Regions from separate parts of the Homo sapiens genome. Here regions 2, 3 and 4 are each linked to region 1. The links are contacts of gene promoters, found by promoter capture Hi-C in human tissues and cell types (Jung and others, 2019). All regions are on one chromosome and are shown on one strand. Each heading gives the region's core, a stretch centred on a gene start or on the middle of the fragment in contact. The rest is flanking DNA. Distances are from core to core; before and after follow the strand shown.

The links. The method cuts DNA at HindIII sites, captures the fragments that hold promoters and counts their contacts. A contact is called where the count stands out against the background at its distance.
Region 2: a contact is called between the fragment with the promoter of ZNF710 here and the fragment with the promoter of UNC45A in region 1, in 1 of the 25 tissues and cell types used here (spleen).
Region 3: a contact is called between a fragment that was not itself captured here and the fragment with the promoter of UNC45A in region 1, in 1 of the 25 tissues and cell types used here (spleen).
Region 4: a contact is called between the fragment with the promoter of CIB1 here and the fragment with the promoter of UNC45A in region 1, in 1 of the 25 tissues and cell types used here (liver).

Annotation. Positions count from the first base shown.
Region 1 is chr15:90,932,955-90,940,295 of GRCh38, reverse strand. It overlaps UNC45A (unc-45 myosin chaperone A), which reads right to left and starts at 5,011. Exons shown (of 20, transcript NM_018671.5): 1 at 4,921-5,011; 2 at 4,591-4,752; 3 at 4,314-4,350; 4 at 3,836-4,011; 5 at 473-565. The coding sequence starts at 4,971. RefSeq lists a silencer at 4,796-5,195 and an enhancer at 5,826-5,925. The HindIII fragment of the contact is 5,793 bases long and covers 2,602-7,341 here.
Region 2 is chr15:89,998,704-90,006,044 of GRCh38, reverse strand. ZNF710 (zinc finger protein 710) reads right to left here and starts at 4,721. Exons shown (of 5, transcript NM_198526.4): 1 at 4,431-4,721. RefSeq lists enhancers at 2,372-3,139, 3,140-3,908 and silencers at 3,608-4,107, 4,523-4,691, 5,100-5,269. The HindIII fragment of the contact is 12,330 bases long and covers 1-7,341 here.
Region 3 is chr15:90,015,283-90,022,623 of GRCh38, reverse strand. All of the region lies in intron 1 of ZNF710 (zinc finger protein 710), which reads right to left. Among named protein-coding and RNA genes, the nearest start is that of MIR3174, 12 kb to the right of the region's middle. The HindIII fragment of the contact is 6,651 bases long and covers 343-6,993 here.
Region 4 is chr15:90,230,720-90,238,060 of GRCh38, reverse strand. It overlaps CIB1 (calcium and integrin binding 1), which reads left to right and starts at 4,120. Exons shown (of 7, transcript NM_006384.4): 1 at 4,120-4,226; 2 at 4,358-4,392; 3 at 5,734-5,842; 4 at 6,554-6,704; 5 at 6,848-6,966; 6 at 7,039-7,127. The coding sequence starts at 4,176. GDPGP1 (GDP-D-glucose phosphorylase 1) reads right to left here and starts at 3,852. Exons shown (of 4, transcript NM_001013657.3): 1 at 3,769-3,852; 2 at 3,465-3,539. RefSeq lists silencers at 3,718-4,157, 4,178-4,627. The HindIII fragment of the contact is 18,702 bases long and covers 713-7,341 here.

The sequences.
Region 1 (7,341 bases), core at 3,762-6,261:
GGAAGCACATTATAATGTTGACACTGCACACGGCATAGGATGCAGCACTGGTGAGCAGGGGCCCCGAGCCCTGGACCTCTCTGCTTCCACTTCACAGTTGAGTGACCACGGCCAAAAAATAACCTCTTTGAAGTTTAGCTTCCTCTGTAAATAGAGGGAAGAGCCTTCTCTCGGGATTGATGGTTAGAGCAAATGAGTCCCCAGCAGAGCCTGAGGGGCTGGGACAGTGCCTCAGTTACCTCTGTACACCCAGTTCCTGGCACAGGGCGTGGCCAACAAGGTACTCTGTGAACACTGGTTCTCTTTCCTTGGTTCACGCTAAAGCCCCAGACCCTCAGAGCTCCCATCCAGGCCCCGTGAGCCCAGCTGCACGATTGGAGGAGCGGCAGAGCAAGGCAGCAGTGGCTTCGGGGGCCTATGGATGGGTGGCTCTAGTGGGAGCTCACTCACTGACTCAGCCCAGGGCCTATACCTTTTGCTTTTTCTCAGTGCCCTTCTCTTCTGGGTCCAACAGTATCTGAAACATCTGTTCCACTTTGGCATCCGTCGAGGACATGTATCGCACCTAGACAAACCAACAAAGCATGGAACAAATCACGGCTCTTGGCCAGAGACATCACACTCCCTATTCATTTGTCTCCAGCTCCTCACTCTGGGAGGCACAGTAAAGATGTCCAGGCTCAGGGCTAGCACCTAGCTACCCTGGGCAGGAAGAGACTTGCCTGGCAGTGCCTCCTAAATTTCCCGCACCTGTTTTTCTTTCTGAGCTATTTCCTGCTTGGGCAGCAGGGGCTGCGCCGATGCTGGAGTGCCTTTTCGGAGGGGAGGTATCCTGTCAGCTACGAGGCAACCCACTCCCAGTGGTGCCATCTACATTGTGGCAGCGTGAATGGGCTTCCCATGGCACTGAACTCAGCATTTATACCTCCTGCCAGGGAGCTGGCAGATCGTGAGGTAGTTGCTAACACTTCCTTTAGCTCCAGAATTCTCTTTTCACTGTTTTAAAAATAATCTGAGCTGGGCGCAGTGGCTCCCGCCTGTAATCCCAAAACTTTAGGAGGCCAAGGCAGGTGGATCACCTGAGGTCAGGAGTTCAAGACTAGCCTGGCCAACAAGGTGAAACCCCATCTCTACTAAAAATACAAAAAATTAGCCGGGCGTGGTGGCAGATGCCGGTAATCCCAGCTACTCGGGAGGCTGAGGCAGGAGAATCACTTGAACCCAAGATGCGGAAGTTGCAGTGAGCCGAGATCACGCCACTGCACTCTAACCTGGGCAATAACTGTGAAACTCTGTCTCAAAAAAATAAATAAATAAAATCTGAAGCCAGGCACGGTGGCTCACGCCTGTAATCCCAACACTTTGGGAGGCCGAGGTGGGCAGATCACCTGAGGTCAGGAGTTTGAGACCAGCCTGGCCAACATGGTGAAACCCCGTCTCTACTAAAAATATAAAAATTAGCCAGGTGTGGTGGCGGGTGCCTGTAATCCCAGCTACTCGGGAGGCTGAAGCAGGAGAATCGCTTGAATCTGGGAGGTGGAGGTTGCAGTCAGCAGAGATCCACTGCACTCCAGCCTGGGTGACAGGATAAGACTGTCTCAAAACAAACAAATAAATAAATAAATAAATAATCTGAATGGGGAAGATCATCCTAGGCCTACTCCCCCACCCCCCAGAGTCCTGGGCATAGATGGTGGCACAAGCCTAGCATGTGGACCACCCGCCTTCCTCTCTTGCATCCATGGCAGCCATGACTAACCAGTCATGGCACGTTCCCCTGCTTGGCTCAGGCAATCTGCTTCCTAATTCTTCTCAACATAGGACTCTGGGCAGCCACTGCCAATCAGAGTTGGCATTGAGAGAGGAAACCTATTTGCTTTCCCAGGCTTCAACATTTCAGTGAGGTGTCTGCCATCATGTTATCTGCTTCCACTGTGTCAGCATTTTAACGTCAAATTATCTGGCGAATTTGAGCTTGGTTGTAGCTCATAATGGTCTTTAGATTCTTTTCTCCTAATTTAAAAATATACGTATTTTACACAATTTCTCTTTATTAAAAAAATATGAACAGGTGATGCAGTCTCCTTTGGAAAGCCCTCTCAATCCCATTCCTTTCCCCAGGGGTCACCGTGTTATCATTTTGATGTATATCTTTTAAAATATTTTCCTGAAAAAATAAAGAAACAAAAATGCATATTTGGCCCAGTGCCATGGCTCACGCCTGTTATCCCAGCCAGTTGGGAGGCTGAGGTGAGTAGATCCCTTGAGCCTAGGAGTTCAAGACCAGCCACCTGGGCAACACAGTAAAACCCTGTCTCTACAAAAAATATAAAAATTAGGCGAGCGTGGTGACATGCATTTGTCCCAGCTACTTGGGAGGCTGAAGTGGGAGGACTGCTTGAGCCCGGGAGGAAGAGGTTGTACTCCAGCATGGGTGACAGAGTGAGACCCCGTCTCAAAATACATAAATAAATAAAAATAAAAATAAATTTAAAAAATAAAATATTTTCGGCTGGGTGCAGTGGCTCACACATGTAATCCCAGCACTTTGGGAGGCCGAGGCAGGCAGATCACAAGGTCAGGAGCTCCAGACCATCCTGGCCAACACAGTGAAACCGCATCTCTACTAAAAATACAAAAAATTAGCCGGGCGTGGTGGCAGGCCCCTGTAGTCCCAGCTACCTGGGGGACTGAGGCAGGAGACTCACTTGAACCTGGGAGGCAGAGGTTGCAGTGAGCCAAGTTCGCACCACTGCACTCCAGTGTGGGCGACAGAGCAAGACTCCGTCTCAAAAAAAAAAAAAACAATTATTTTCCTTTGTATTTACATACCCAAGTGTACCCACAGAAAAAATATAGCATTGTTTTGCTATGTAGGGGATCATTAACATAAATGATATTATACTATATGTGTTATTGTATATTTTTCTTCTTCTTTTCTTTTTTGAAAGAGACAGGGCCTCACTCTGTCAGCCAGGCTGGAGTGCAGTGGCACGATCATAGCTCACTGTAACTGCAAAATCCAGGGCTCAAAGGACTCTCCTGCCTCAGCCTCACAGGTAGCTGGGACTACAAGGGTGTGCCACCACACCCAGCTAACTTTTTAGGTTTTGGTAGCAACAGGGTCTCACTATGTTGCCCAGGCTGGTCTCAAACTCCTGGCCTCCAGTGATCATCCCATCTTGGCCTCCAAAAGCACTGGGATTACAGGCATGAACCACCATGCCCTGCCTATTTTGCTTTGTTCATTCAACAAGTGTCCCAGAGCTTCCCATTTCAATATGTGTGTATCTACCTATTCTCAGTAACTATATAAGAGTCTGTAGTAAGGACATTACCCATTTATTCAGCCATTCCTCTATGGCTGGGCATTCAGGCAAGTTCCAAGTTTTTCTTACTACAAAAAAGGCTGAAATAAACATACACATGTCTACTTGTGCACGTGGACAAGGTTTCTCTGAGAGAAACAGCAAGAAGTAAACATATGGGATCACAAGATACGCTCATTTGAAATTGAATAGATATGCTAAAGTACTCTCGAAAAGAGCTGTACCAATTTATACCCCTCCAGCAGTCATCAGAGAGCCCTTGGCCCCCAGCCTCACCACTGATGTGTCTGCCTCTCTCCTTCTCGAAAAGTGTACAAACTTTTAAATATCTGCCAGACAGACCTCCAAATCAACAGTAATGTGCTGTCATCTTAATTTGCTTTTCCCTGGCCACAGGCAAGGTTCACTTGCCACCGGGATCTCGTCTGGAGAACTGTGTCTACACCCCTGGCCCAGACCCCTTCACCACCAGTCAATGCTTCCACCTCTCTGGGTCACTCACATACCTTCTCCTGAATCTGGCCCCCGATGTTCCGCAAGGCCTCCTGGAAAACTTTGTTCTTGGGCTCCAAGCTCACACATCTCTGCAGGTCAAGGACAGCCTGGTCCAGGCGGCCCAGCTTCTCTAGGGCTTGGCTCCGCCGGTAGAGTGCTTTGACATCCCCACCATCCTTTTCAATGGCTGAGCACAAACAGGAGCGCTGTCAGCACCCATGAGGCCACTGTCTCCAGGCAAGAGCAGTAGGGAAAGATCTCGAGGAAAGGCCAGAAGAAGGTGGGGGGGACGAATGTGGGGCTCGGTGCTTCAGCCTCAGAAAAGGTGAGGGTAGCTGCAGAAAAGGAAAGGCCCGAGGCAGTGGGAAAGAAAGAAGGCAGATGTGTCTCTGGGGCCAAAGGAGGAGAATGTGACGGTGCAGCGGTCCCAGAGTCCTTGCCCACCACAGAAGCCCTACAGCTCCACACCAGGGCCCACCATTCCCCTACCTTTGGATGCCTCTGTTTCTGCTTTGTCGTAATCTTCCTGTAAGAGAAAGACAGGAGCCTGAAGGAATGGTCATCTCCCTCTCGGGGCACTAACCAGGCAGCAGGGGTACTCTCGCTCTCCAAGGTCACCCGATCCCCCACCACCCTGAGGTGCAAAAAACATCTGGCAAGCGGGGATGGCCTGGGAGCGTGAATGTCCAGCTGGGGCCCAAGCATCAGCTTAGATGGGCGAACCGGGGCCCGGGCGGGCGAGGGGAAGAGCGCCAGGCTCCCTCACCAGCTTGAGGTGGCAGGCGGCCCGGTTCCGGTGCAGAACGGCCTGGTCCTGGGGCGTCGCGTCCAGACCCAGGGCCTGAGTGTAGGCCGCCAGGGCGCCCCCGTAGTCTCCACATTTGAACAGCTCATTGCCCTCCTTCCGCAGCTGCTCCACTGAGCTGGCCTGTAGAGAGAAAGGGGGCGGAAACGTCGGAGGGGGTTCGGGGCAGAGCCCGGGAGCTAAGGGGAGAGGAGAGGAGGGATCGGGGCGAGCCTCATGGATGGGGAGAAGGAGGCCAGGGATGGTCAGGGCGGGTGCGAAGGGGTGATGGCGCGGGGGTTGGGTACGCACCCCGGGGGTGGCCGGCCGGGGCTCGGGGGTCCCTGGACCACTCACAGTCATCGCGGAGAGGTTGTCTCGTGCCCGCGCAGGCGCAGTCTCTGGGGCGGGGCGAGTCTGGGTTCGGGACGCCACCGGCAGCTGCCCCGCCCCACTCTTGCGTCGGAGGTGGGGTCAGAGAGGGGCAGGGCTAAGGAGGGAGCGCGCCCGGGCAGGGGCGGGGCGCTTGGCTCTGGATCGCAGGTGCAGGCAAGCTCCGGGCGCACCTAAGCTGTCCCCGCAGAGACCTGCAGGGAGCTCGCGGCGGAGGACCCAGAGGGAGGCCTGCGGTGGCTCCAGCCCAGACTCCGGCCCCGACCGCAGCAGAAGTGCACGAGGTCTACGGTCATCAGGGTCACAACCAGTAGGTTGTAGAGGCCCAGCACTAGGAGCGGGCCTGGGCCCCTGCGGGAGAGAAAAAGTATCTGGATCCCGGCCCCGACCGCGCTCTCGCTGCTGCGCTCTGTGGGGGGTACAGAATCCCTGGGAGTCCGGAGAAAGCTCAGGACTCCCTCCCCAAATAAGTGTCGTCTTACATACACACATTTGCATACGAATTTAGGAGCTCATCCTAGAGCCACCCATGGGCAGATTCAGGATGGCTCCCCATTACCAGCTTGCACAGCCCCCTGAACTTCTCCTTTGTAATTGTAATCATGATCTACATGATTTTCTGTTGCGGTCTGTCCCTTCACTAGTCTGTAAGTTACAAGCCTACCACCCCATAATTTAGGAACAGAGCCCCAGATACTGGAACACCCTGTCGATGTTCCAGTGGCTCTGGGGTTGGAGATCTCACCTGAGGATGGGCGGGGGCGGAAGAGCGGACAGATTGACTTGGTACAGGGCCTCAAATTCAGCCCGGGTGCAGCAGGAGCCCCCTGCAGCCTGCAGGTGGCAGCAGTAGGCTTCCTCTGGAGAATCAGACAGACGAGGGCAAAAGAAACCAGGGTAGTGACGGCCATGGACATCCCGGGTGGTCTGGCACAAGTGAGGGTGGTGGACCAGAGCTGAAGAGAGAGGTGGGGGTGCTAGAGACAAGCAGGAGGGGCCTTTCCACAGCTCACTCCACCCCTACTGGAGAGTAAAAGAGATCAGCCCCTACCAGAAGAAAAGATGCCCTTCCACCCATCCCCATCAGTTCCAGTTCCCAGGAATAGCCCATAGCACCAGAGGCAGGTGGGCCACAGGGGTAAGTGCTGTACCTGAGAGAGAGGTTGGCTGGACAAGGGTCACCCAGCTGAAGAGCAGCAGTAGCCCCACAGATAGGCCTGTCAGCAAGGGGCCTGACCTTCTCTGGATGCCCATGAGAGTTCACTACCACCTCTGTCCTGGTCCTGGGAACCCCAACATCTCTCTTTCTAGGCCGTGACTGCAGACAATAAGGAAATAAAAGTCAAAGCCCCAAGGCCCTTGGGCACCATTAATACGAGCCTGAAGCTTCTCTATCACAGGCTTTTAGAGAGAGATGACAGGGACTGGGTTTCTGTCTCCTGTTGGAAAACGTGGGGCCTGCATTGCCAAACTGCTGAAGGAGAGAAGGCTCAAAGGACTAGAGGACAGAATGAGGGATGAGAGAGCAGCTGAGCCATTAGTATGAAGAACAAACAAGCATTTACAGCCAAATATGTTTCTACCCATTCTCCAACTTCCAGGCTGCCATGGAAGCTCTGGGAATTCTGACCCTCCTATTTCAGGTCCCAGAGACCTCAGTTCCAGCATGTGGGGCTTCCCTCCCTAACCTCTGCTACGTGGCAACCACCAAGACTAGCTGAAAACCAAGGGTGACTCCTTTCATTAGCCTTTCCCCTGAGCCTTATCTGCCCCAGCTACCAGCCAGAACACAAAAGCTACATGTCTGATTAGAGTATACTTAGCTAATAGGGAACCCCCTCTCACAGAGAAGTTCTATGGGGATCACCAGGTCTCTCTTACCCCTCAGCTGCCCCTAAGGCAGGGAATTTCTCCAGAAGGCCACCAGCCAGCAGAATTAAGTGTTATTCCAGTGCCTACCCAGGCCTGACAACATCATGCTCCCAGGACAGCAGTGACAACACTCATCACCCCAGGGGCCCACAGAAGATGCCTAGAGACTGAAATAGGAGCTCTCATAGCATAAGAAGACAAGGCAAATTTCATCTGCAACACTGAGGACAAACAAAGGCAGTTCCTGCAGAAACGTCACAGCTACCTGGGAGCCTAAGTCTGAAGCAATTAGGCAGGGCTCCCAGGGAAGGCTCTGATTTTTCAGGTCAGGCCCTAGGGTCTCCTGGAGGGTCCAAAGGTAGACTCCCCTGCCCACAGAACCTGGCCCATCCCTACAGGGAGAACTATTTTTAGAACACTTGGAGAATTTTCAGAGCTTTTACAGGTTGAAGATGGTTCTTGGGGGGA
Region 2 (7,341 bases), core at 3,472-5,971, 930 kb after region 1:
AAGGAACCCCAAAGTGCTGAACGCCCAACTCTTTGGCATGGGCAGAGACATATGACCACATCATCGTTCCTGAGAGGCAAAGTTTGAAGTTAGACAGCCTGGGTTTAGATACCAGCTCTGTGCCCTTGGACAAGTTATTTAACTCCTCTGCCAAATGAGGATAAGAATGCAAGAGCCAGCACCTGCAAGAACTAAGAGAGACAAATACACAAAGCACGTAGCATAATTCTGGCCTAAGACACATGATTATTATTATTCTCCCTATATTCTGAGTCCAATTCAAAACCTATTGTTTTAGGCCGGGTGCAGTGGCTCACGCCTGTAATCCCAGCACTTTGGGAGGCCGAGGCGGGCAGATCACGAGGTGAAGAGATCGAGACCATCCTGGCCAACCTGGTGAAACCCCGTCTCTACTAAAAATATAAAAATTAGGCTGGGTGTAGTGGCGCATGCCTGTAGTCCCAGCTACTCAGGAGGCTGAGGCAGGAGAATCGCTTGAAGCCAGGAGGCGAAGGTTGCAGTGAGCTGAGATCGCGCCACTGCACTCCAGCCTGGTGAAAGAGTGAGACTCCGTCTCAAAAAAAGAAAAAAAAAATCTAAAAAAACCTATTGTTTTGCACAAGTCTCCACCCAGGGGCTCCACCCCATTCAGGATCCTCTCTTCCCAGCCCCCTCCTGCCTCACCTGTCTGGAGCTTGTTTGAAGCAATGACTCACAGCACAACTCTGCAGCTCCCATCAATCACCTCCCTGTCCCTGCCTGTGTCATTCATGGGTTCCTTCTGGCAGGCAAATCTTCCCTAATGTCCAGTACATTCATTCAGCAAGTATCTACTGAGGGCCCACTATAGATCAGACCCTATTCTAGGCACAGGGGCTCCGCAATGAACAAAGCAAAGACGTCTACCCTCACAAACGTTCTAGTACATTTAACCCACAGATGGAAATCAGTTCAGGTCTTGGGTCCTTACACTCCTTCTCTTCTCTCCTGACCAATCCTAAATAAATCACATACAAGTCAAAGTATGAAGAAAGCATTCCAGATCAAAAAATGGTGTGATGTGAGAAAATCCCGATGACTAAACTGCTTCTCTGATTGTTGGACTTTGAAGAAGTCAGTGTTGAAACAGCCTGAATCACCCAGTTCCCCCTAGTTGTCTCACTGGCCAGTCACATCCTCCAGCACAGTTTCTGTAACACATCTGGAAAATGAGGCGCTCCATTTACCCAACTCGTGTGCGGCGTGAGCGCACGGTTTCATGCTCTCATAGCTACATTCTTTGAAGTGAGCTTGATTCGGGATCCCCAGCAGTAGCAGAGACAGTGGCCTTGTAGAAACAGCACTGGGAACAGGCTCTGAAAGCTCAGGTTGAGTGCTGGCTCTGCCACTTACTGTGTAATCCTGGGTACAGAGCTTTCTTCCTGCCTCAGTTGCTTTCAGACAATCTCTAAGGCCTTCTTCCAGCTTTGAAGTCAAAGGGCTGGGAGCAAGCACCATTAACAGCAGGCCCAGCACATTCACAGATTCCTTATTTCAACATAATGAGTCCTGCCGCGGGCTAGGCCCTGGCTAGGCCTGAGGAACGAGGGTATGGGAGGGGTCAGCAAGCCAGATTATGAGCCTGCGCCAAGCATCAGCACTGGTGGGGCCAGGGAGCTGACTTCACTTGTCTCCTCCAAGATGCGCTGGACTCCTCCTTTATTTATTTATTTACTCCCTTCTAGAAAGAAGTTGTGCTTCTTTCCAAACACAACTCTGCTAGAAATATCTCTGGGCCACAAGGCAAACCTAAAATAGAAGTGCAAAATCTCTGGTGGTCCCATTAGTCTCCCTTCCTCCAACTCAAAAACCATTCCAGACCTTGTCTGTCTCCTTGTCTCTAGACAGTGAGCCTAAAATAAGTCTCCCTGGTAGGAAATGCCTGGTTGGAATGGAAATGACCCAAGCCCTGGAAAAATGGCCCGCTGACCACACACCGTGGGCTGAGGACTCACCCAGGTATCAGCTCTGAGAAGACAAGCAAGTGAGCCCGCGTCCCACTTCAACTCACTGCAGCCCCCTCCACCAAGACACAGGCAACCAGGCCAGGCTGGAGGAAGAAAATGTGACCCAAACATCCAATTCCCCCTACCCAAAAGAAAGCAGCTCTATCCCCACGGCCCTCATGCAGGAAAGCCAGCTCCAGAAGGTCACTGGGGCACCAGGTGGGCACCTCTCTGGAGCTACAGATGACCGATCAGAGGTTCTGCTCCGAGACTGGCAGGTACCCAGCACAGTTACCCTGGCCTGAGGGTCAGCTAATAAAACCAATGAGAAAGTATAGAAAATAACATTCTCTTTAAAACAAATGAGAAAGGAATGGCCACTCTAGGTTTTCAGAAGTCAAAACCAGATAGCCCCATCGGCTTTGATCACATTAGGAATACACTGTCTCTTATCTAACGAGTTAAGAACGGTTTTCTTCTTCCCTTCTCCCACGTGGCCCCATTGGTTCTCTAGGCCCCCTGGTGAAGATGCAATAGGGACACAGACCCCCAGCCCTCTACTTGGCAGAAATGAACTTTGACTGGTTTTACTTACACGTGTACAAATGCAGGACTGAGAGGGCAGCTTCAAAGCTGGCTGAGTGACCCCCAAGAGCACAAAGTCCTTCTCCGCACACCTGTGGGGGAGTTTTGTGAATTTCCCAGATGCCCACAGGGACTAGTTATGTACACTGCAGGTCGATACCGGCCGGGAGTTTCCATTTTGCACAGCAAGAAAGGTGCTCAGGGTGCCCTTTGCAGGTGGGCACTCGGCCTGCAGCTCAAGGGTGGGCCATGACGTTGGTCCCTCACTGGATTGCCCGGCAGGCCTCCCTCAGACCCAGTAGGACGAGTACCTCGAAGAGTCCTTGTGATCCCAGCACTTTGGGAGGCCGGGGCGGGCGGATCACGAGGTCAGGAGTTTGAGACCAGCCTGGCCAATATGGTGAAACCCCGTCTCTCCTAAAAATAATTAAAAATTAAACGGGCGTGGTGGCGTGCGCCTGTAGTCCCAGCTATTGGGGAGGTTGAGGCAGGAGAATCGCTTGAACCCGGGAGACGGAGGCTGCAGTGAGCCGAGATCGCGCCACTGCACTCCAGCCTGGGCGACAGAGCAAGACTCCATATCAAGAAAAAAGAAAAGGCACCCCGGATACTGCTACGCCTTGCCCTAACCGTCTCGCAAATCCTAGAGATACATGAATGACCCTTTCAGGTTGGTTAAAATCCACACAAGCACCTCCCTGGCCTCTTAAATCTTTCCAAACTACAGCTTAGACTGGAGGGAAGCAGTTGCAGCGCCCATAAAAGTCATCTTAAAAGGCAAGTTGGAAAAAAACCCGATACGCACTAGTTAGCAAGTCCGCGGTGAAGGGGGCGGTGGCCCAAGGGCCGGATCTGCGGGATCTGTGCGCCTAGGGTGGGGAGGCTGGGGCTGCCCCGTCGGTCCCCGAGCCCGCGCGCCCACCTGGTAGCCTGAGGGCCCCGATCTGACGCTGGTGCTCACGCCCCACAGCTCCATCCAATTAGGAAAATGACCGCGAGAAGACGGAGAGAGGGCGACGAGGAGGAAGGGGGGCTGAGCCGCGGGAGGCTCAAGACGGGCCGTAGGGACCCCGCCCGCCACCCCCACCCCCACGCCCCCAGACAGCGAGCGCCGGTCCTGGGTCCCCGGCCCGCGGCGCCCCGACGCTGTCCCGGCGGAGATCCCGCGGCGCCCAGCGTGCGGCGGCCAGTGGCCCTCGGGGACGCCCCCAGCCCCGCCAGCGGCGCGCTCAGCTCTCCCCCACCCCCGGCCGGCTGGGACGCGCAACAACCCCACCCGCTCCGAGAATAAAGTTTGTGGGCAGCCGTAGGGGCGGGGCGGCGAGGGGGTGAAACTTTGAGTCCCGGGCCGGGTGTGGGGGGAGCGCACCCAGCACCGGGACACCCACGTGCGGGCCCGAGAGCCTCCGCCACCGTCGCCTCCCGGGCCTCCCGCGCCGCCGCCGCCGCCGCCGCGACGCTTTCCTTTCATTTTTGCCTCTCTCTCTCTCTCTCTCTCTCTCTCTCTCATTCGCGCGCTCTCCTCCCTCTCGCCCTCTTTCGCTCGCTCCCTCCCTCTCCCTTCCCCCTCCCCCTCCTCTCCCTCCCCCCCACCCCAGACGCCATCTCTCCCTCTTTCCCCGGCTCTCCCTCTCTCCCTCCAGCTCTCCGGCATGAGGGAATGTGGAAGTGAAAGGAAAAGACGACATGTTTGCAGCGCGGCGCGGGCCTGCGCGCGGCCGTCCCCAGGGAGAGGCGGGGGGCGGGTCGGCCGCGGCCGCAGCGACCCACCCCCGCGCCCCCCGCGCCCCCGCCGGCCGGCAGCGCGGGGCTGCGGGGCTGGGGCTGGGGCTGGGGCGGGGGGCCGCGCGGGACACTCACCCTGGGTCCGGGCGCGGCTCCTGCGCTGGGGCCCTCGGCGGGCCGGGCCGGGCCGGGCCGGGGGCTCCTGGCTGCCCACCGCCCGGGCTGCTGCTGTGCGCCCGCCGCCCGCCTCCACGCGCGCCCGCCGCCTGCTCCTGCCGCCCTCCCTCCGGCTCCTCTCTTTCTCTCTCTCCCCCCTCCTCTCGCTCGCTCTCTCGCTCGCGCTCTCTCCCTCCCTGGAAGAAGGGAATGAGGCAGGGCTGACGTGAAGGGATGCAAAACAGCTCCTCCTAAGCCAGCTCGCAGAGGAAGAGAGAGACAGAAAAGCAGCCCTTTTATCTCTCTTTTGTTTTCTCACTTCCTTCCACCCCCAACACCTCCCTCTTGTCAGCCCAAGTTTTCTTTTCTCTTTCTACCGCAGAGGATTTTTCTTCCTTTCTTTCTCTTTCTTTCGGTTCAACTCTCCCACTCGAATTGAAAGCCTGAAGGGTTTTCTTTCTCCTGTTTTTTTCTTCCCTCTTTTCTTCCTTCTTCCTCCTTTCTTATTTCTCTAAAAGGGTTTTGTTTGCTGTGGGAGTTTCGTTTGAAAATCAAGTCACGCCTTTTTTCCTTCTTTTCTTTCTTTCTCTCTCTCTCTTTTTTTTTTCTCCTCTCAGCAGAAAAGGGGAACAAAGATTAACTGAAGCGGGGAAGAGGCAGACCTCGCTTGGAAATGGGGGGCCCGGCCCTGTCCGGTACAAAGGGGGCCCGGGGGCCCTGCGCCCCGCCCCCCCCAAGGGAAGCCAGGGGCGTCCTCTGGAGAGGAGAGCCGGTGCGGGTGTTGGGGCACGGGTGCGGCTCCTGGGTGCCGGTTCCTTCCCAAGTGCGAGCGAGGGCCGCCGAGCCCGCCCCTCCCCAGCCAGAGGTGGCAAGCTGGGTGTGTGTGCTTCACTTATGTATTTTTAAAGTAGGCAGATGGGCCTGGAACAAACATCCCCGCAGAGCACTGAACAGCAAAAGCCTTTAAACAGCTGTTAGCAGAGCCCTGGACGGCCTGACTCGAGGGAGCGGCGCGGGCTCCGAGCGCCAGGGCCCGGGTGGAGAAGGGGCTCAGGGCAGCTGCTGGGATCGGCGGGCTGGCGGGGTCCCCGAGCCCAGGGCCTGGGCCTCGGCCCCGGGGCGCACTGCTGGGGGGCGCCGAGGCGTGGTCGCTGGCAGCGCGGCCGTCAGGTCCCTCTCGGCTCCCTGAGGGGCCGCGGGGTTTGGCACAGCCTCGCCGCCCTCCAGCTCCGGCGCAGGCCGGACACCAGGCCTCCAACCTCCAGAACACCCGCCACTCCGAGCCGTTTCTCGACTGCAACGCAGGGCGGGTCCGGAGCCCTCGGACAGAGCCGGGCAGTGCCGCCAGGAAGGGTCAATTATTCATGGGGCGCCCGGGCGTGCTCCCAAGACCTGCTCTGTCCTCGGGTTCTCCGGAGGAGTGGGGAGAAGACGGGGGAAAGTTCCCAAAGCAAAGTTGGTCACATTTGTCATTTTCCCAAGTAAGTATTGAGCACCTGCTGGATGCCGGGCCCTCGGACTGGGGCTGCAGCCAGGGGGAGAAACGTGAGGTCTCGGTGGGCCCCGAGAGCAAACTCAGGGAACAATGCAAGGGAAGCTGCGGCTCAGGACCAGGTCACCGGGAGGAAGGAAAGCCTGGATCCTCTCCCCTCCCTCTTCCCTTCCTTCCCTTCCCTTCCTTCCTCCCGGCTGCATCTCCTTGGCTCCACCCCTTCTCCTCATCAATTCCTCCCACACTTCCCTGCTCTCCCTGGCTTTTCACTGAAGGGTCCCTTCTCCCAGGGAGGAGCAGATGCTGAGCCCCATTGTCTCTCCCCCAGTGACTGCAGCCTCCCGGGGACACGACCTGCCACTCCTCACCCCTCCCCCCAGCCCTGAGCCCTGGGCCTTTAGAAACGAGAGCCCCAAGGCCACGGCCCCTCGCCCCACCCTAAACCAGCTCCTGGTGCTCTGAGCTATGACTCCAGTCACTCAGAACACATTTGTCTCTGACGAGGAGTGAGGAAACAGTAGCCTGAGAGTTTGGTTCAACAAGAAGGACACCATGGTCTTTTAACATCAGCACCCTGAGCCCCCAATGACCCCAGGGCCTTTGCCCAGGTCTGCAGGAAACCACATTTCCGTCATCACTTGCAGCCTCCCACTTAGTACACCCAAGCTGCATCCTCCAAAAAAGCAGAATGCAGCTCTTAGAGCCAAGCATGCACTTAACAAATGCCTACTGAGTACCTACCCCGTGCCGGCGAAGGTGCTGGCTGCTGAGGACCGAATCATCAGCAAGACGCAGTCCTTGCTTTGGCCTTTGGCTTTGCAGGCGAAGGAGCAAGAAAAGAAGACAGCAACCTCAGTGCCATGCGATACAGGCAAGAGTGAACCAAGAAAGCTCCTAAGAGGGTGCTTGGACTAAGGTGGTCAGGTGTGGCTTCCTGGAGGAGGTCGTGTCTAGATTAGGCTGTGCTAGCCAAATGCATGGGAGAGAACAGTCTGTCCAAAGGCCCCAGGGCAAGACGGCACATTATTACAGGTTCTTAGAACTGTCAAGAGTTGAAGTGTTTACTGCAGCTTAGAATACAAGTGGGTGGGGGGAGAGTGAGGATAGAGCACAAGTGGGAAAAAGGGGAGGGTGTCAGGGAAATATTCAGATTTTAGCCCCTCCCACTTGCTAACTTCATGAATGTAAATGAATAACATAACTTCAGTGAATAACTTCGACTTAATTTCGGGACATATAAAATGCAGGTAAGAAGACCTGTGGATTGCAGAGACAGTGTCTTAGTTTAAGGGCCCAGGCTTACCTGCTGCATATTCCTGGGCAAGTCAACCTCTCTAACTTTTCTGTAAAATAGGGATAAAAATACCTGCTTCACAGTTTGTTGTGAGGCTCAAACCC
Region 3 (7,341 bases), core at 2,419-4,918, 920 kb after region 1:
AAGTCTCCCGGCTTATGCCAGAGTGATCCGCCATAGTGTTTCTTTGCTCAGAACCCACTAGTGGCCTCCCAGGCCTCAGGATGAAGCCCGAGCCTTTTGACACATTCTCAGTTGGTCCCTACCTATACCTGCAGCCTCATCTTCTACCATCTCACCCACAATCCCCCTCGGACTCCTCAAGTGTGTCCCTTGCTGCCTTTGCATGTTTGAGTCCCCCATGCCTCCTTTTTGTTTTGTTTTGTTTTTTTGAGACAGAGTCTCACTCTGTCCCCCAGGCTGGAGTGCAGTGGCGCAATCTCGGCTCACTGCAACCTCTGCCTCCCAGGTTCAAGCGATTCTCCTGCCTCAGCCTCCTGAGTAGCTGGGATTACAGGCATGCACCACCACACCCGGCTAATTTTTGTATTTTTAGTAGAGATGGGGTTTCACTATATTGGTCAGGCTGGTCTTGAACTCCTGACCTCGTGATTCGCTCGCCTCGGCCACCCAAAGTTCTGGGATTACAGGCGTGAGCCACTGTACCCAGCCTTGTTTTGTTTTTTGAGACAGAGTCTCGCTCTGTAACCCAGCCTGAAGTACAGTGGCTGGATCTCAGCTCACTGCAACCTCTGCCTCCCTGGTTCAAGCGATTCTCCTGCCTCAGCCTCCCAAGTAGCTGGGACTTACAGGCATGCGCCACCATGCCCGGCTAATTTTTGTATTTTTAGTAGAGACGGGTTTTGCTATGTTCACCTGGTCTTGAACTTCTGACCTCAGGTGATCCGCCTGCCTCAGCCTCCCAAAGTGCTGGGATTACAGGTGTGAGCCACCACGCCTGGTCCCCCATGCCGCCTTTGTCTGCTAGGACTCAGCTAGACACCACCTCCACCAAGCAGTCTTCCCTACAGCCCCCTGCCCCCAGCACATTCGAAGAGCTAACTTCCTGTGCTTTTGTGTCTATATCCAATATCTAGTACCCCTTCTGGACTGGGGGCTCACTGGGGAGAGAGACCATGCCATTCACCTTAATATGACAGAGTTTAACACATGGTAGGTAGTTGGTAAATGTTTGCTGATTGAATGAAGGAAGTAAGAGAGAACAAAGGGCGATTTTTCAGAGAACAGAGGATTCAGGATGGTGCAGGCCTGTCTCCTGACTTCATAGCACCGCGGTCCGCAGGTAATAGTGATAGCCATGGGTTATATACAAACACACAGTGTAGCTATGAAAAGTAGGCTCATGAACCCATTTTACAGGCTGTGAAACCAAGGCTTGGGGAGGCTGTGGGTCATCAGGGCTAGGAGATGGTGAGCCGAGGCTGAAAGCTGTAGGTCCTCTAATCCTGAGTCCTGTGACTTAAGGATGAGGTCCTCCCCTTGCCTCTGAGCCGCTTCAGCGGGGCTCTTTCAGGTCTGCACCTGCCTGTGGGGAAAAGAGCAGCTCTGTGTTTCTGTGTCTAATGCAGTTTCCATCCAACAAAGGACGCAGTTGAGAGAGCTCCCCAAGGCTAAGGCGGGTCCAGGTCAGAAGTCTGAACACACACTGGAGAAACGTTTGACTCCATAGCAAGGAACCCAGGGCTGAAACCCTCACCCTTGGAGCTGACGTCCCCCAGGCTGCTAAGGGGGGGGGGGTGCCACACCCTCTCTCACAGGACTCCAAAGTTGCCCACTACTCATGCCCTTGGTGGGTCCAACACTATCACAAATGGACCCCTGCTTTCCCCAAATCTTAATTGATTAAAGAAGCAAAGTGACAAGTTTCATCTGAATCTAAGGTTGCAGAATGAGATCTGTAACACTGTCACAAGTTGCGGGGAGGCGGGTGGGGGACCCGCCATTCAGGGAGGAGAGGGAGGACCGGGCAGATAAGAGATCTCATCCCCAGACAGATAACGGGGCTAAAATGACAAAGGAGCTGGGAGCCATTGCTGGCACTTTGAGAAAAAGGAAGAGCATATTAAAATTTAAACAAAGCCCACCCCAGGGGAAACATGCAGCCTCCTTCTCCCAAACTGCGCCTCTCATTTCCAACACACATGAGGCGTCAGGTTCACAGAAACCGAAACGTCCCTCATCTCAAGGGGCTGGGGTTTGTGTTTTTGTTTTTTGTAACCCATCCCGGCAGCAGCTGGCATGCTGTGTCTCCCCGGGGGCGGGGAGGCAGTTCGGGCCTCCACCAGCCCCCATGGCCTTCTTGGCAGAACTGAGAAGAAAGGGTGGGCTGGGCTTGGGCCTCAGCTGGGACAGCCCTGCCTGGACGGAAGGGTGCAGGGGCGTTGGTAGCAGAGCTGGAGGAGGGAAGGGGCTGTGAGGTGCCTGGATGTGCCCAGTCCTGAAGGTGGGCACCAGTCTAGGTCCCGGCAGGAGAGAAAAGGGAAGAAAGAAGCTCAGCCCACAGGAAGGGCCCCAGAGGCCCCATGAAGAATGCGCTGTCACGCAGGAGGAAGACAGCGGAAAAGGAGGAAGAGCCGGTCAGCAGTGGGAACAGGAAGGTCCGATTTAGACCACGTAAATGCTACTTCCTCAGTAATTCCATCAAACTTCCCTCTGTTCCCCACACCAAGTGATGACGAAGAACTGGGCTTCAAGGGGCTGAAAGTCTGGGCAGAGGCACTTCCTTGGCCTGGACTCCTGGGCTAGAGTCTGAGGCCTCCACAGGAAATCCTCGGCTCCCCCACTCACCGCCCCCCAATAAGCACCAACCTAGTCTCTGGATTAGGGCAGGATGTTTGTTTAGGAGCATTCTCTTGGAAGAAAGACCAGCCTAAGTTCTCTGACAGACTCTGGAATCCTCAAAGCCAGCTCTCTGTCCCGGGCACCCTAACGGCTGGCACCAGAGAAGGTTACCCTGGGGAGCCACAGGCCTGCAGCTTCCTGGGGTCATGGGAGGCAAGACAGGGTCTCTGGGCCCAGCCCTCGCACTCCCATTGTAAAGCGACGGGCCAGGATGACAGACTCCCTTTCCTAGGTCAGCTGTGCCCGGAGTCTCTCAGGCCCTTCCTTGCCATTTACTCTCAGCCAACCTGTATGACCCGTGAGAAACATTAGGAAACAGAGGTCTGAAAGACTCACAACCATGTTTAAAAGAATGGGAGTTAGTATTTGGCTAAACAGAATCCAAATATGATACAATGTGTCTGGGGGCAATTTACCCATCTAGACGAACAGCCTTTAGAATGTGTCCTTGGCCCAGTGATTCTCTTCTGGAGATGTATCCCAAGGAAATAACCAAGTCTGTGGGCAAATATACCCAAGGATGTTTACCACAGCATTCTTTACAAGACAGAAACAGAGGAAACAAGCTAAATGTAGGAGATTGGTTAAATAAATGATAGTCCATCTGTTCAAAAGAACTATACAACCCTTTAAAGTGACTTGACGGAGGCTGCTTAACCTGATGGAAATTTTAATCACATGTTGTAAAGTAAAAGCAAAAAAAAAAAAAAAAAAAAAAGAAAGAAAAAGTAATAAGATGGTACAAACAGTATGATCTCATCTTTTGAAATTGAAAAATATTCTGGGGGGGCTATACAATATACTAAAATATTAATAATTATAGGTGGTTTTTATCTTTTTTGCCTACTTATAGTCCCTAAATTTTCTGCAATAATCATCAACCTCTTTGTAGCAAGAAAAAAAAATCAATAAAAGCTATTTTCTAAAAAACAAAAGGAAGAGATACAAGATCCAAGAGACTGTTCATTCCTTGGGCATTCAAATCTAAGATGGATTAAAAAACAAACAAACAAACAAAAAACCACTAGACAGAGACATCTTAAATCCACCTAAGAATATTTAAGAATATTTTCAAGGTGGTTTCCAGGACAGGGAAATTAGAATCCTCCAGAAGGCCCTACTGAGCACAGGAAGACTGAGAGCCACCAGCAGGGAGACACATCCTCCAGCAACGTCCATGAAGACCCAGGGCCCAGCTTTCCTGTGTGGGCCCTTCCAGTCACTGTAGCTGAGTGGGGAGGTGAGGGGCAGGCAGGGGCCAAGGTGCAAAAAGGCAAAGCAGACATGACCTCTGTCCTGGTTTACGGAAAGGGCAATGGCCGTTTCTTTAGACAGTGAATTCAAAGAGGAGGCGAAAAAAGGCCAGTTCTTAATCTGAGATTTGTTAATCTAGGTGGCGACAAGAAATGAATTTTTACAACCACGGTAGGAAAACCCCAGCTGGGCGCGGTGGCTCACGCCTGTAATCTCAGCACTTTGGGAGGCCACGGTAGGCGGATCACCTGAAGTCAGGAGTTCAAGACCAGCCTGCCAACATGGTGAAACCCCGGCTCTACTAAAAATACAAAAAGTAGCTGGGTGTGGTGGCACACGCCTGTGATCCCAGCTATTCAGGAAGCTGAGGCAGGTGAACTGCTTGAATCCGGGAGGCGGAGGTTGCAGTGAGTCGAGATCACGCCACTGTCCTCCAGTCTGGGTGACAGAGCAAGACTCCATTTCAAAAAAAAAAAAAAAAGAAAAAAGAAAAGAAAAGCCCCAAAACAGGGATTTGGAAGAGAAATTCTAACAAGCTCTGTAATTGAAGCAAAAGAACACAGCTGATGTTACACAGAAGTTTTTCTGGGGGAGACAGAACACAAGAAGATGATGGAGCAGAATGCTGGGTAGGACGTCCAGAGCGCTCACAGCACACTGTGAGTGAGAAGCTAGCCTTTGCTAAGAGAGATGCCCTGGAGCCCAAGGAAGGAGATTCCATAGGGCATGGCCTTAATTATTCAAGCACCAGGAAAACCTGAGGAGCAGTGGGGAGGTGTCTCAATGTTGCCGGTCCCTTTATGATCAAAAGCCAAAAGCTTTAAAGTCTATTTCAGATATCAAAATGCATCCATTTGGGAACCGTTTCCTGGGTGCTTCCCATCCATTCTCGAATTCTGCAAACAACTGGGCACTGATGAGTATAAACTTTCCAGGGGAACAGCACCATGCTGTTCAAGACACTCCCACCTTCACCAAGTAACCAAACAAAAGTGGACAGGATGGGTCATTAGGATGCATCCCTTGCAAGATGCCAAGCAGTATAGTGACAGGATGTTGGACATGCCAGCTCAGGCCCACAGATCCCGAAAACTTCCTACCCCCGAGAGCATTCCTCAGCCCAAAAGGACCCTGCTTCTTTCTTAAAGAATGATGACTCCAAGTTAGAAAATAAATATGGCACCACACACAAGGACAGCCGGAGCTGGATGATTTTGTATCTCTTAAAGACATCAAATTCTTCCCCTGGTGAAGCTATAGCCTGTAAATTACAGCCTTGTATTATATATGGCCAACACTTTCAGCTTTGTTCTCCATACAGCATTTCTCATCAGCAAGGAGGAAGCAGTCAATACCCTACTTTGAAAAACAGCACAGGTGGTTCTGGGAAACAAATAATAAAAATGCACCTCTCCCTCCCTTTAATTAAAGACATGCTATCCAATGGCACTTCTGAATAGAAAAATATTTTTAAAAAGTTATTCTCCCAGAATCTTCCAAGTACCAAGTGCCTTTACCCCTAAAAAGTTCCCTGCCATAAAACAAAGTGAATGCACCAGCTTAGGGAGCCAGGAAATGCTCCCTCAGCACCTGGCAGCAGCTGGCACCTACCTGAGGCCAGTTTACAGACAGAAAGAAAAGCTCCCTTGAAATAACGCTAAGGTTCAGACATTCTGATAAAAGCTGGGAACTTCAAAGGCAGGACTGCAGAGCCAATCCGTAATCCTCCTCGAAGTGTCTGATGTGGCTGGCTGGGCTCTGGGCTTGCCTTTACCACCTACTGCCTGAGCTTTTGCCCCGTAGGCACAAGCCAGCTGCAGAGGCAGGAGTGGAAGTTTCTTTACAGTCACTCCCTTTGCAGAGATGGGTCTAGGCTATGGTGTATGGCCATTTGTCCTTGACCAATGAAATGTTGGTTAAAAAAAACAAGAGGCCAGGCACAGTGGCCCACGCCTATAATCCTTGGGAAGCCAAGGTGGAAGAATCACTGAGGCCGTTAGCTTGAGACCAGCACAGACCCCACCTCTACAAAAAATTTAAAAATGAGCCAGGCATGATGGTACATGCCTGTAGTCCCAGCTACTTGGGAGGCCGAGGCAGGAGGATCACTTGAGCCCAGGAGTTTGAGGCTGCAGTGAGCTATGATCGTACCACTGCATTCTAGCGTGGGTGACAGAGTGAGACCTGTCTCAAAAAAATAAAATAAATATAAGAAAGCAAGAAAAGAAAACTGACAGAGATGAGTCCAATGGCTCTGGAGTCAGGACTGAATTCAATGCCAGGTTCCAAGGCTAACTCTCTCCATGAACTTGGGCAAGTCATTTCAGACTTCTGAGCTTCAGTTTCTCGGTCTAAAAATGATAACCTTGCACCAGTTTCTGGAGAGTATTAACTGAAATCGTCTATGTGAAAATGCAGAGCAAAGGTGAAAGACTTCTTCCCCACCTCCGCCTACCCTCCTTTCTTTCTACCCATCCTTTTTTCCTTCTTTAAAAAAAATTATTAGGTAGTATGTGCACAAGGTACAAGATTCAAAATACAGAAAAAGATACACCATGAAAAGTCAGCCCCGACTGTGGGAAACCACTGTTACCAGCCTCCTAGATATCCTTGCGGAGCTACTGCATAAGCAGGCATTCTATCCCTCTCTCTCACTTAAAATGTCTTAGTTGGTACATAGTGTACATTGGTACATAGGGCGTGTCCATTCTTTATTACAACTGCACAGAATTGCATCGTATGGCATTGGGCGCGGTGACTCACGCCTGTAATCCCAACACTTTGGGAGGCTGAAGGGGGGATTGCTTGAGTCCAGGAGTTCGAGACCAGCCTGGGCAATATAGTGAGACCTTGTCTCTACAAAAAATTTAAAAATTAGCTGGGTGGGTTTTCTCAGTATTTACGGGCATGCGCCTGTGTTCCCAGATACTTGGGAAGCTGAGGTGGGAGGATCGCTTAAGCCTGGGAGGTCGAGGCTGCAGCGGGCTGTGACTGCGCCATTGCACTCCAGCCTGGATGACAAGAGCAAGACCCCGTCTCAAAAAAAAAAAAAAAAAGAATTGCATTGTATGGTGGCTGGATAATTTATTTACCAGTTCTCTAGTGACGGACATTCTGGCTGTTTCCTTTCTCTTTTCCTTTTACAAGCAATGATGCAATTAACTATCTTGAAAAATGCATCATTTCACACATGTACAATTTATCTGTTAAGAGAAATTTCCAAAAGAGAAATTGCCCGTGCACTTTTAATTTTAATAACTATTGCCAGAATTTCCTCCATAAAAGTTGTACTGATTTACACCTCTATCAACAACTATGAGAGTATCTGTTCCCCACCAACACATCTCCACAGAAAACTTGTGTTTCTCT
Region 4 (7,341 bases), core at 2,871-5,370, 700 kb after region 1:
CCCAAAGTGCTGGGATTACAGGCGTGAGCCACCGCACCTGGCCAAAAATGTTTAAAAGTGAAGCTAATCCTTTGAGCTGGAGCTGCAAGGTAAAAGACAACAACAACAAAAAAGTGAAGCTAAGCATAATTTTGATGATCAAATGTAGTATCTTATTCTCACCTTACTGCAATGTCTGCCTCCCAGACTCAAGCAATCCATCCACCTCAGCCTCCCAAGTAGCTGGGACCACAGGCACTTGCACCAGGCCTGACTAATGTAGTATCTTATTCTAATAAAAGAGAATCTTATCTGACAGGCGAAAAAATTTAAAATGAGATAATAAAAATAATACAAAACCAAAAAAAGGAGAAAAAAAAGAGATAATCTTAGACATTTTTTCAAATAAGATATAAAGATGGCCAACAAGCACATTTGGGATGTTTAACGTCATTAATCAATAAGAAAAGGCAAATCAAAATCACAATGAGGGGCTGGGTGCGGTGGCTCACACCTGTAATCCCTGGACCAGCACATTGGGAGGCTGACGCAGGTGAATCACGAGGTCAAGATACCGAGACCATCCTGGCCAACATGGTGAAACCCTGTGTCTACTAAAAATACAAAAATTAGCTGGGCGTGGTGGTGGGCACACACCTGTAGTCCCAGCTACTTGGGAGGCTGAGGCAGGAGAATCACTTGAACCTGGGAGGTGGAGGTTGTGGTGAACTGAGGTGGTGCCACTGCATTCCAGCCTGGTGACAGAGCAAGACTCCATCTCAAAAAAAAAAAAAAAAAGGGAAAAAAAGAAAATTACAATAAAGTCCGGGCACGGTGGCTCACGCCTGTAATCCCAGCACTCTGGGGGGCCAAGGTGGGTGGATCACGAGGTCAGGAGTTCGAGACCAGCCTGGCCAATATGGTGAAACCCTGTCTCTACTAAAAATACAAAAAAATTAGCCAGGTGTGGTAGTGGGCGTCTGTAATCTCAGCTACTCGGGAGGCTAAGGCAGGAGAATCGCTTGAATCTGGGAGGCAGAGGTTGCAGTGAGCTAAGATCGCACCACTGCACTCCAGCCTGGTGACAGAGTGAGACTCTGTCTCAAAAAAATAAATAAAATAAAAAATAAAAGTATATCAGCAGCTCGGTTTTATCACTGTACCAAGAGTTGATCAGGTACAGGAGGGACAATATGCTAACCAGATTCACCGAGGACTACCAAATGATTCAGACTGCCCATTTAATAATCTACCATGAGAGGCCGGGCGTGGTGGCTCAGCACTTTGGGAGGCTGAGGGAGGCGGATCAAGAGATCAGGAGATCGAGACCATCCTGGCCGACATGGTGAAACCCCGTCTCTACTAAAAAAAAATACAAAAATTAGCTGGGCGTGGTGGTGCACTCCTGTAATCCCAGCTACTCAGGAGGCTGAGGCATGAGAATCAGGTGAACCTGGGAGGCAGAGGTTGCAGTAAGCCAAGATCATACCACTGTACTCCAGCCTGGTGACAGAGTGAGACTCCATCTCACAAATAAAAATAATTTACAATGAGAAATATGCCAAATGGCACAAAAGGTTCTTGCTGGCTGGTCAGTGTACAAAATGAATCAGGAAGCAAAATGAAAACCAAAGGTTGTTCCATGAAGGGTTCAGAGCCAAGTGAAGTGACTGAGAGATCTAGATCACAGCTGGTCACCAGGCACAAAGCTGACTCTCATGTCTTCACTATAAAGAGATACTTATGGCTGGGTGCAGTGGCGCACGCCTGTAATCCTAGCACTTTGGGAGGCCAAGACAGGCGATCACCTGAGGTTGGGAGTTCGAGACAAGCCTGACCAACATGGAGAAACCCCGTCTCTACTAAAAATACAAAACTAGCTGGGTGTGGTGGCACATGCCTGTAATCCGAGCTATTCAGGAGGCTGAGGCAGGAGAACTGCTTGAACTCAGGAGGCGGAGGTTGCGGTGAGCTGAGATCATGCCATTGCACTCCAGCCTGGGCAACAGGAGTGAAACTCTGTCTCAAAAAAAAAGAAGACAGATACTTATTACCATGCAGTCCAGGTATTCGCCTTGGCTTGTAAGAGGCAAACAAGGTCTATTTAGTACAGGAGACATAATGACAGCTTCTTGCTTTTTGCCTAAGCTTTTACTAACAGAAGACTAACTCTTTCTCGGACAGAAAGAGCCTGCTATTAAGAGAAAAATGATCGGCCGGGCACGGTGGGTCACGCCTGTAATCCCAGCACTTTGAGAGGCCGAGGTGGGCGAATCACGAGGTCAGGAGATCCAGACCATCCTGGCTAACAGGGTGAAACCCCGTCTCTACCAAAAATACAAAAAAATTAGCCGGGTGTGGTGGCGGGTGCCTGTAGTCCCAGCTGCTGGGGAGGCTAAGGTAGAAGAATGGCGTGAACCCAGGAGGCGGAGCTTGCAGTGAGCCAAGATCATGCCACTGCACTCCAGCCTAGGCGACACAGCGAGACTCTGTCTCAAAAAAAAAGAGAAAAATGATCAGGTTGGGATGGGCCTATACCCTAGTTATTTTTTTTTATTTTTATTTTTTGAGACAGAGTCTCACTCTGTTGCCCAGGCTGGACTGCAGTGGCACAATCTCCGCTCACTGCAACCTCCAGCTCCCAGGTTTAACCATGTCTGGCTAATTTTTGTATTTTTAGTAGAGATGGGGTTTTGCCATGTTGGCCATGCTGGTCTTGAACTCCTGGCCTCAAATGATCCGCCTGCTTCAGCCTCCCAAAGTGCTGAGATTACAGGCATGAGCCACCGCGCCTGGCCTTGAATATTTCTACAATGATGGAATGTACCTGTTAATACAGTGTGTCTTATCAAACACATGCTGCCAAGGAGAGCACTGGGTATTCTTCCAGTGTAAAGTAGATTCCTAGGCAGTCTAGGGAGTCAGGAAAGGCTTCCCTGAGGATGAGATGGAAGAGGGACTGAGGGCCCAAAGTGGCTGAAAGACAGAGAGCCAATAGGAGGAAGTCCAGTTACAGAGGGCCAGGATTTGGGTTTTTAACCATTTAATGGTTATAAACTGAGACTAACATACTCAGATTTAGACTTTACAAAGATCAGCAAGTATAATGGATTGGAAGGATCAAGAATTAATCCCAGCCTGACCAACACAACCTCCACTTCCTCCTCCCAGCAGTTTGGAATCCTTACCTTTTGCAATAGTATACGTTCATTCATTTATTATGCATTCGATAATATTTACTGAGAGCCTACTATGTGCCAAACATTATCCTAGAGGTTAAGAGGGGACAAGAGCAAAGGGTCAGCAGTCTAGGGGTGAGATGGAGTCAAAAGGACGGCAGGTCAGCTGGAATGATGAGAACAGCAGTGGAGAGCCTTTAAAAGTGCCTTGGACTGGACCGATTACCTTCTAAATGCCGGCGCCCGGAAAAATCACTAACACCCTTTGGACTTACGTATTTCCATCTTTGTAAAATGGGAACCTACCTCGCAAGGGATGTTGCAACAATCGAAGAAAACTATGCACAATGCTTGACATCCAGTGGGTCCTCAGTAAATAGCCTAAGAAGGAAGCAAGGTTATGGTTACTTCTGGAAGAGGTGGCTTGGGGGCTGCGACAGGTGCAGCGATTGCCTGATGATAACATCTAGAAAAGCCCTTGCTGGGCAGAGGGGCAGCCGACGACCCCCGCCACTCAGCGAGTCTCCAGGTTTCCCGGAAACGCTAGCTCCAGTGACTTCTCAGATGCCCCTATGGGACCCCACCCAGGGCTGCCGCCGCCACCACCTACTGCAGCCGAAGCGGATGCACCTCGCGACTTTCCCCGCAGCCGCTGCCGGGGCCACAGCGAGGTCATGACGCCCGTGACGCATACGCAGCCAGCACGCACGCGCGCGGCGTGGCCCGCCCCCCCCTCCCACCCCGGAGGCGGGGCCGTGAGTCCCGGGCTCCGCCCCGGAGCGTCGGGCCCCTCCCCGGGCCCCGCCTCCAGCTCGCCTAGGACCGCTTGGAGCCGGCAGCTCGCCTGCCAAACCCGGCTGGGAACGCCTGGCAGCTTTTAGGAGGGGGCGGGCCCGGGGGTGGTGGCCCCAGGAGCGGTTGCCGCGGGGACCGGGCAGTGACGCGGCCCAAGGGCGGAAGTGAGAAAGTTGTCTGCGTCTCGAGGCGAGTTGGCGGAGCTGTGCGCGCGGCGGGGCGATGGGGGGCTCGGGCAGTCGCCTGTCCAAGGAGCTGCTGGCCGAGTACCAGGTGCGCGGGACGCCTGGCCCTGGGGAGCTCGCGTGCGGGCCTCTTCTCGGGAGCAGGGTCCGGGAGCTGGCTGCGGGGCGGCCGCGGCCTCCCAGCGGTCCGCTAATCCCCGCTCTGGCTTTGCCTTCCAGGACTTGACGTTCCTGACGAAGCAGGAGATCCTCCTGTAAGTGCTGCCTTGAACCCTGCCTCCGACCCCGGGATCCTCTAGAGACAGCTTCGGGGGCGCTGTCCCGAGGGAGGGGCGGGGGCTGGCCTGAGGTCTGCAGAGGAGCGGGAGCTGGAGGCCGGGAGACCTAGCCCGGGCTGCGCCCTCCTCCCGGCACGCCCTCCCCGCCCTCGCCTGAGGCCCCAGCGTGGCACCGCGGAGCCACCTTACAGCCTCCAGGAAAAGTTAGGCGCTCTTTGACCCTGGGCTCCACTAGCTTCAGCACTGCCGAACTTCCTGCCCCAGTCCGGCAGGGGCCGACCTTGCCCAGTGGCTAAACCACAGAAGCCTTGGGGAGCCCGGCTCCTTCTCCCAACTTTACCTGAATAATACAGTAACCGTTATCGCTTTCTGAGCACTCACCATGTGCCAGGGACTGTGCTAAATGGTTGCCTGCGTTACCTAATTTAATCTTTAGGAGAGAGGTACTGGACAATGAAACAGGTTCAGAAAGGTTTGGTAACTGCTTAAGACAACACTCTGAGTAAGTAGATTTGAACTTGGGCTGGAAGCCCTTTTGCCGGATTTATGCAGGCCAGGTTCCTGTGGCAAAGATAAGCTCATGGGAAGGAGGTGGAGGCCGAGGAGGACAGTTCAGTGTGGTTGCTAAAAAGGAGGCTTTGAGGGTAAGAGATCCCTGGAGTGAAGGTGAGAATGAGATTTTTGGTTTTGCTCTTTTCTCCGTTTTTTTTTTTTTGAGACAGCGTCTCGCTCTGTCGCCCAGGCTGGAGTGCTGGGGCACGATCTTGGCTCACTGCAGGCTCTGCCTCCGGGTTCAAGTGATTCTCCTGCCTCCGGGTTCAAGTGATTCTCCTGCCTCAGCCTCCTGAGTAGCTGGGATTATAGGCACCCGCCACCATGCCCGGCTAATTTTTGTATTTTTAGTAGAGAAGGGGTTCACCATGTTGCTCAGACTGGTCTCAGACGCCTGACCTCCAAAGCTCCGCCCGCCTTGGCCTCCCAAAGTGCTGGGATTACAGGTGTGAGCCACCGTGCCTGGCCAATTCTTTAGGGCCAACTTCTGGCTCCTTTCCCAACTTCTTCATCCCTTGGGGATCTCTAGAATCAGTGCCAAGCACATAGTAAATGCTCAGTAAATACTCATTGCAAGAATAGACTCCTAGGCTGTACTGCCTTGTGACATGTCCTTTTGCTTACCGTTGCCTGATGACTCGGAAGTTCTGTGTACGTGGTTTTAGCTCCTCACCTGGTTGACAATGAGCAGCAGGCAAGGAGTGGGAATGAACACACAGGGAGACCGATCGCTGAGAACACCGACAGTTCCCCTCTCTCTACCAGAGCCCACAGGCGGTTTTGTGAGCTGCTTCCCCAGGAGCAGCGGAGCGTGGAGTCGTCACTTCGGGCACAAGTGCCCTTCGAGCAGATTCTCAGCCTTCCAGAGCTCAAGGTGCAAGCGCTCCCCTCCTTTGACACCTCTCCCACCACTCCCTCCCTGCTAGACCCCCTAACTCCATCTGCCACTAGCTTTGGGATCATGGGGTCACTGGTCCCCACTCTGGTCATTTTTCTGCTTAGTTCTGATTTTCTAGGGGCAAGGACTTTACCAAAATCACCTGGCAGAATTATCTAGAATGGTGCTTTTCAAATGGGGATTCTAGAACATAATCTTGGAAGTTCAAAGAAGTTTTGTCCCTTAAGAGGAGTTGAGGTACCTCATTAGAGTTTGAGGAACCGTGTTCTAGAGGCTGATTGCCACTCCGTAAGGCTGCTGCAAAATTTCTGTGCAAAGGGCCTGGCCCGGTGCCTGTAACACAATAGCTGTTCAAGTAAATATTTGTGTTTTAAAATAACCAGCCCATCTCGTTCCCTTTGTTTAGGATGACTTCTTCTTCCCTCTCTGCCCACACTTACGTTGTATGTGACCTGCCTTTGGGTTAAACACTTGACTCCCAGGAAGCCATCTCAGTCCCTTCCCCAGCTGGGTCAGTTTGCTTTCCTGTGCCCCCACTGCCCTCCATGTTGGCCCCAAAGCACTGACTGTTCACCCCCACGAGGCTGAGCTCGCTGGTGCTGGTCCTGTGACCTGCTCTCTCAAGTTTCTGGTAGGCTTTAATGAGCGTGTGACCTGGGCCACGTCCTGTGGCGTTTGTTCTCCTAGGCCAACCCCTTCAAGGAGCGAATCTGCAGGGTCTTCTCCACATCCCCAGCCAAAGACAGCCTTAGCTTTGAGGACTTCCTGGATCTCCTCAGTGTGTTCAGTGACACAGCCACGCCAGACATCAAGTCCCATTATGCCTTCCGCATCTTTGGTGAGAACCAGGAGCAGCCCGGCAGGACACCACCCCTTCCCACGTGGGCTTTGTGGTGGCCCTGCTTGGGAAATGGGCGCCGTTTGGGGAACCTCAGAGCCCCTCCCAACCGTGTCTTTTGGCTTCCTGTGTCTGCTCTCTAGACTTTGATGATGACGGAACCTTGAACAGAGAAGACCTGAGCCGGCTGGTGAACTGCCTCACGGGAGAGGGCGAGGACACACGGCTTAGTGCGTCTGAGATGAAGCAGCTCATCGACAACGTGAGCAGCTGAGCAGGCCTGGGAGCGGGAGGGAGCAGTTGGGGCTCTGGCCTGAAACTCTCCCTTTCCCAGATCCTGGAGGAGTCTGACATTGACAGGGATGGAACCATCAACCTCTCTGAGTTCCAGCACGTCATCTCCCGTTCTCCAGACTTTGCCAGGTATGACAGTGGTCCCCCTTCATTCTGGGTACCTGCAGGTTCCGACCTGCTGCCTCTGGGCCTAGGGCATGGCTACAGGAGGTGGTGCCAGGGTGAGAGAAAGCCCCAGTCCCCACACACAGGGCCGGCTAAGCTGGCAGTCTCGCCCCGGGCAGGGGCAGCCCTCCTTGTCAAGACCTCTCCCCTTCCCACTGCCATTGTCATTGCTCTGTGT